Regions from separate parts of the Homo sapiens genome. Here region 2 is linked to region 1. The links are contacts of gene promoters, found by promoter capture Hi-C in blood cells and fetal thymus (Javierre and others, 2016). All regions are on one chromosome and are shown on one strand. The core of a region is centred on a gene start or on the middle of the fragment in contact, and the rest is flanking DNA. Distances in the headings are between cores, read along the strand shown.

Region 1 (3,205 bases), core at 245-2,744:
GCAACTAGCAACTTTGTAGGAAAAGGAGAGGGAAGAAGTCCTGTGTTCTGCACTGAGAGATCATTTCATGTCACGCTTCAGTGCAATTAAAATAAAAAAGGATTTACTAATTACAAAGCAATCCTAACAAGGTACATAATACAGAATATTCACATCTTATACATCTCCTAGAGAAAGATTACAAACACAGAATGTTTCACCTTCCGGAGGAGATAATTATTAACTTTTAAAGACTAGCTCAGGCAAGAATGAAAAAGTATCAAGTCAAGGCCACATACATTCTAATTTTATAACCCAGGCGGCCCTGGATGGGATTCAGAGAGCTCTTATTTGAATAAGATCTGACGATATCCTCTCATTAAAAGGATTAGTGTTTCTGCACAAACGTCTAGATAAATCTTATTACTGGTCCAAAATTAGTCACCTAAAGGCTTTAGCCAGTTTTGCACAAATATTTACAACTCTGAAGAGGCTGAGTACTTTTTCTCTTGAAATCCAGGCACTATATCCACTTCAAAAGCCACATATGATTGTGGCTTTTGCTGAGCATATTTCTTTTCGACGAGTTGAAGATGACAATCTCTCAATACCTTACTCCATAGACTGGATGTAAGCGTCAAAAGAGGATGAAAAGGTACTTTCTGAACGGACAGGTACTCTGGGGTGATGGGTTGGGAGATTCTCTAAGCCTCAAGAACAGCGTTTCATGAAACGGGCTTATAAAATACAGCCCATCTCAAACGGATTTTAAAAGGCACCCAGTTACTTTAAAATACCCAATACAAACACCAAGACGGGCTATTTTACCAGGTCCCCTGCAGAATGTGAAGGGGCTTCCAGCGCTCCAAGCCGGCTTTCTAATTTAAGCCAAGAACCGAAAAGGAGCGAAGGCGGCTTCGGGGACCCCGGCAGCGTGCAGGGCCAGGAGGTTCAGCCTGCCCACCCGGAGAGGGGTGCGCCGAGCTCCTCTGGAAATAGTGACTGAAGGGTCCCCGCGAAGTCGCCGTGCCAGCCCCTCTCCCAGTTCCAGCGGTCCCCGAAGTCCCCGGGCAGAGCCGGCTGCACAGGGACCGGACGAGGCGAGGCGCATTCCGGGGCGCAGCCCCGAGGACGAAGGTCCACGGCTTCAGCCCCAGCCCACGGCCCCGACTCCCTGACGAAGACTCGCTGGAGCGCGGCCTCAGGGCAGCTGCGCGCAGCTGGACTCGTCCCCGGGAGCCCTCGACCCTCTAGTTCCCCGCCGGCCCCAGGGCGCCCTCGCCCCGCTCCTTCCCCGCCGGCCCCAGCGTCCGGGCTGCCCCTCGCCCGCGGCCTCTCGGCGGGGCTGGAGACCTAGCAACTTACTGGGGCTGGGTTGGGGTCGCGCCAAGAAGGCGGCGGTGGGCTGCCGGCTGCAGCGCGTCGGGGGCCCGCGGCTGGGGGACGCTGGAGCAGCGGCCGCCGCCTCGCTGGTCCCGCGAAGAGGAGCGCCCGCCGGCCGCGCTGCAGAAGGAGGGCTGGGCACGTGGGCGCCCCTCTGTGTAGCCACCCGGGGCGGGGGCGGGGCGCGGGGCCGGGCGGCACCGCCTCCTCCGCGCTCCCGGAACGCGACCCCGAGCCCGCCTCCCGCCGGGCCCCGGCCGCGCTGACCAATCCCCGGGGTGGGCGGTGTGCGGCCGCTGCTCAGCGGGGTTTGCCTGGAGCCGAGCACACGTGGGCGGGCGCTAGCCCCGGGCTAGGCCGGTGGGCGCGGGCCGGGGAAGAGAGGCTGCGCGCGAGGATAAACTTCGTGCTCTCCTGGGAGGACCAAACCTCAAGGGCATTTCCGAATCTTCTAAGCAGAGTTCTAAGTGGGGTTTTGGTCCCCCCGTTTACTTTCCATTCTACAAAGATTTTGGAAATAAGAAAATAATAATAAAATATAATAATAGCAATGATAAATGGAAGCCCAGGTGGATGTGCTTTGTCAAATGCAAACTAAACGTTGATAAATAATGTGCAGTTGCTATTTTGGAAGACTCCAGTGGTATGAATACGTAGTCACGATTGTTTGGGGGTGGGTTTATAGGAAATGACATTATTTCCAGGGGAGCAAGAGCAGAAGTTACACAATCAGGGTTTCTCCTACTGCGCTATTGTTTACTTTAGGAGTCTCTGATAAGATTAAGTCACAATGTGAAAGCCTGTTAATTTTCATCCAAAACGAAGCAAAACACGCACTGAATTGAACAATAAGTGTGTGTCAGTGTGTGTGTGTATATGTGTGTGTGGTTTGTCTTTAGAGACAGGGTCTCACTCTGTCGCCCAGGCTGGAGGGCAGTGACACAATCGTGGCTCACTGCAGCCTCGACCTCCTGGGCTCAAGCTATCCTCCCGCCTCAGCCTCCCAAAGTGCTGACAACTACAGGCTTGAGCCACCAGGCTGAGAATTACAGGCTTGAGCCACCATGCCCGGCCTATTACTATTTTTGTTTGACAGAAAGGTCCACTTTACTTTGCATAGTATTGGAGTAAACGTCCCTTTAACCCACCTACTAGTAATAACTTTGGCAAAGTGCCAGATTTGTATTGCTGCCTCACAGTACATATACAATTTTAATGTGATATTCTAAATCATTCTTCCCTTCAAGACATATATCCCCAAGATCATCTAATAAACGGTGTGGGGCTTCATTCCAGAAGATAGCACACACACAAAATCTCAATGTATCTCAGGAAGCCATCCATGGATTTCATCAAAAAGTGAAAGTGTAGGCTGGGGGTGGTGGCTCACGCCTGTAATCCCAGCACTTTGGGACGCCGAGGCGCGCCGATCACCTGAGGTCAGGAGTTCGAGACCAGTCTGGCCAACAGGGTGAAACTCCGTCTCTACTAAAAATACAAAAATTAGCCGGGCGCGGCGGCGGGCGCCTGTAACCCCAGCTACTCGGGAGGTTGAGGCAGGAGAATCGCTTGAGCCCAGGAGGCGGAGGTTGCAGTGAGCCGAGATAGTGCCACTACAGTCCAGCCTGGGCGACAGAGTGAGATTCCGTCTCAAAAACAAAAGCAAACGAACAAAAAAACTGAAAGTTTAAACAGCACTATGATTACGAAGATATTATCTGATAGACCAAATGTCTTAAGTAATAGAGACTGTCAAAGTAAACTTATTTTTACAGTCAAAAAAAGATTCCTTATGCAAATTATCATTAATAACATTAAGGGAAATGATGCGTGTGGACTTTTA
Region 2 (3,205 bases), core at 224-2,723, 210 kb before region 1:
TTAGTTATTATCATGACTTAAGACTAACCTGGTATTATGAGGAGCCTAGTGAGGAAAAGTTACTGTGTGGACAGAGGACCACAACAAAGTGTGTTTGCTTTGGAAAGACGACTTTGATGCTGAAAAATGATGCTGAAAAGCCAGTGACTTTGGGTGGATCATTGAACCTCTTTGATAATAGTTTTCTATGTAACTGAAAGGGTGGATTTCTAGATTTCTCCCTACTGTGATATTCTGTGACTGAAAATCACCTTGACTTTTTTCATATTCTGCTGGAAATGAGTCATATTTTAGCTGATACAGAAGACATTGCCTCCACACATAAACATGTTCCTCTGAGTGTAAATTTTTAATCGTTGTACTATGGCTTTGAGATATTTTTATTTTAAAGCTGTAAGTAGTGGTGGAGATTACAGTTGAGTTGACCAACTTCATATTCCTTAGTTCTAGTAAAATAATCACTTTTAATTATAGCAGTTTGCCAAACTTCAAAAAGTTTAGCATGTAGTTTAGAAATCACCCTTCAGCTTTTTAAAATTTGTCGTTTTAAATGAAATTTAGATAAGTGTATATCCTGCTTTGTCATTTAACATATAGTAATCACTTTTACATTTAGCAGATACAGTAACATTTAACTACTTTTGAATATTTAGGGTGCTTCTGTATCACATTCATAAATGATTCTATGATGAACATCTATACAATTAGCACTTTCAACTTTCAATTTCTTGTGATAGATTATTAAAAGTAGTATCAGGAAATCACAATATGTACCCATTTACAGTCACTTCACTCAAATAGCCAAATTGTTTTCCAAAAGCTTCATATCATTTTATACCGTGGTTGACATAAAAGACACCTGGCTTCATCATACCTTGGGTCAACATTGGATATTATTTTTAAATTTTTTTGACTAACATAATAGTTTAAAATGTTACATCATTGTTTTAGCTTGACCTTTATCAATTAAAGAAATTACATTATCTCATAAGACAATGTAGAAAAGCAGGAGGAGAACGAACTTTTAAGGCACGGGATGTTGGTTTAAACCTTCGTCCTGCTGCTTTCTATTTGTGTCCTGACCTTGGGCTAGTTGCTAAGCCTCTCCAAGTCTCAAATTTCTCGTTTGGAGACATGGGAATATTGGGGAAATAATTCCCAGAAAGGCAATAATATGACATCATAGAATTGTTTTATAAAAGGTTCTCAAATAATAGTTAAGTCAGCTGCTAGGAACGGTAATGATGGCGATCTTTTACATTGTTTTTATAATTCTAGGGGCTTATTTTTAGGGTTCTTTTCCAGGAAGTTGAATTATTTTAAATCTCTAAAGCAAGCAGGAAAGACTGCTTAAAGTCAAGAACCAACCTCTTGGGGTCTAACTGTTGTAATTTATTTAAACGTTATGACGCTGCAAGATTGTAGTTGATATTGACTCTAAAAAAAATCTTGGCTTACTGCTGATAAGGAAGATGTCACACATACCACAGAATACTATTATTACCTTGGTTCTACCATACACTAAAGCCACTGGCATACCAGAGGCATCAGAGCTGTATTTATCCAGTACCCTGATTGGTTTACACAAGATCATCACTCTCAGGTGCCAGAGTGTCTGCCTTGGAAGGTAGAAAATGCACTGGTCCTTCCGCAGTTACTTAGTAAAGACATCACAGGAGAACAGGGCGGCTTTCTTGCCTTCTTTTGCCAAGTGCTGGGAAGTGGTTGCAAGTTGCAAACCTGCTGATGAGGTGATGCCGAGGCTGCCAGGGTTTCTTCTGGTGAGAGTAGAGAGAAGGCTGTTTTTTCACTGTTGTTTTATGATTAACATAACTTTCCCCCTATACTTAAAACACAGATGCTCTTTTCATATGGGATACATTTTTGTTTCAAATTGGTGTTGGGGGTTGTGAGGAGTGGATCATTTAGTAAATCTTCTTGAGACAGTGACTACCTTTTTAGCAGGAGCTAGATCTTTTTCACATATATACAAAGTATTTCAGATAAATTAGTTTTAAACACACAAAGTAATTAAAACACTAAGAATATAGACTTAAGTAGAAAAGATCTTTCCAGGAACACTAGTATAATAGAAACGATTAATAATTAGGACAACAAAAGCTTTAAAAAACCTTAGAAACAGGCTGTGCATGGTGGCTCACGCCTGTAATCCCAACACTTTGGGGGGCCAAGACAGGTGGATTGCTTGAGGCCAGGAGTTCAAGACCAGCTTGGGCAACGTACTGAGACCCCATCTCTACCAAAAATACAAAAAAATTAGCTGCACGTGGTTGTGCACACTTGTAGTCCCAGCACTCATGAGGCTGAGGCAGAAGAATCGTTGAACCCAGGAGGCAGAGGTTGCAGTGAGCTGAGATTGCACCACCGCACTCCAGCCTGGGTGACAGAGCAAGACTCCGTCTCAAAAAAAATAAAAAGAATAAAAATCATTAGAAACAGTATTTATAAGCAAAGAACAAACTGAGGTTATATTAGCACATACTCTGTGTAGAGCTCTGTCAAATCAGCAAGATAAAGACAACTCTATAATAGAAGCTAAATGGACATACCACCCAAAGAGATCTACAGATTCAGTGCAATCCCTATCAAAATCCCAGTGTCATTTTTTTAAAGAAATAGAAAAAACAATCCCAAAAGTCATATAGAATGACAGAGGACTGCAAATAGCCAAAACAATCTTGACAAAGAACAAAGCTGGAGGCATCACAGTTCCTGATTTTAAAGTATATTACAACACACAGTAATTAAAAGAGTATGGTACTGGCACAAATATAGAAACATAGACCGATGGAATAAAATAGTCTAGAAATAAATCCGTGCATATACGGTTAGCTAATCTTCAGCAAGTGTGCCAAGAATACACAATAGGGAAAGGATAGTCTTTTTGTAGATAGTACTGGGAAAACTGGACATCCACAAGCAAAATAATGAAATTGGACCCTTATCTCACACAGTACACAAAAATCAACTCGAGATGGATTAAAGACTTAAATATAAGATCTGAAACTATAAAACACCTCAAACAAAACATGGGGCAAAACTTCATGTCATTTTTCTTGGTATGACACCAAAAGCCCAGGTAACAAAAGCAAAAATAGACAGGTTGGAGTACATCAGATTAAAAATCTGCAGAGCAAAGCAGTCATTTAATAGCATGAAAAGGCAGCCTATGAGATAGGAGAAA

Evidence for each region. The method cuts DNA at HindIII sites, captures the fragments that hold promoters and counts their contacts. A CHiCAGO score of 5 or more calls a contact.
Region 2: a contact is called between a fragment that was not itself captured here and the fragment with the promoter of SLC7A2 in region 1, in 1 of 17 cell types (endothelial precursors). The highest score is 6.0, in endothelial precursors.

What each region holds. Positions count from the first base shown.
Region 1 is chr8:17,495,377-17,498,581 of GRCh38, reverse strand. SLC7A2 (solute carrier family 7 member 2) reads right to left here and starts at 1,494. Exons shown (of 13, transcript NM_001370338.1): 1 at 1,345-1,494. The HindIII fragment of the contact is 8,504 bases long and covers 1-3,205 here.
Region 2 is chr8:17,704,221-17,707,425 of GRCh38, reverse strand. All of the region lies in intron 6 of MTUS1 (microtubule associated scaffold protein 1), which reads left to right. Among named protein-coding and RNA genes, the nearest start is that of MIR548V, 24 kb to the right of the region's middle. The HindIII fragment of the contact is 1,301 bases long and covers 823-2,123 here.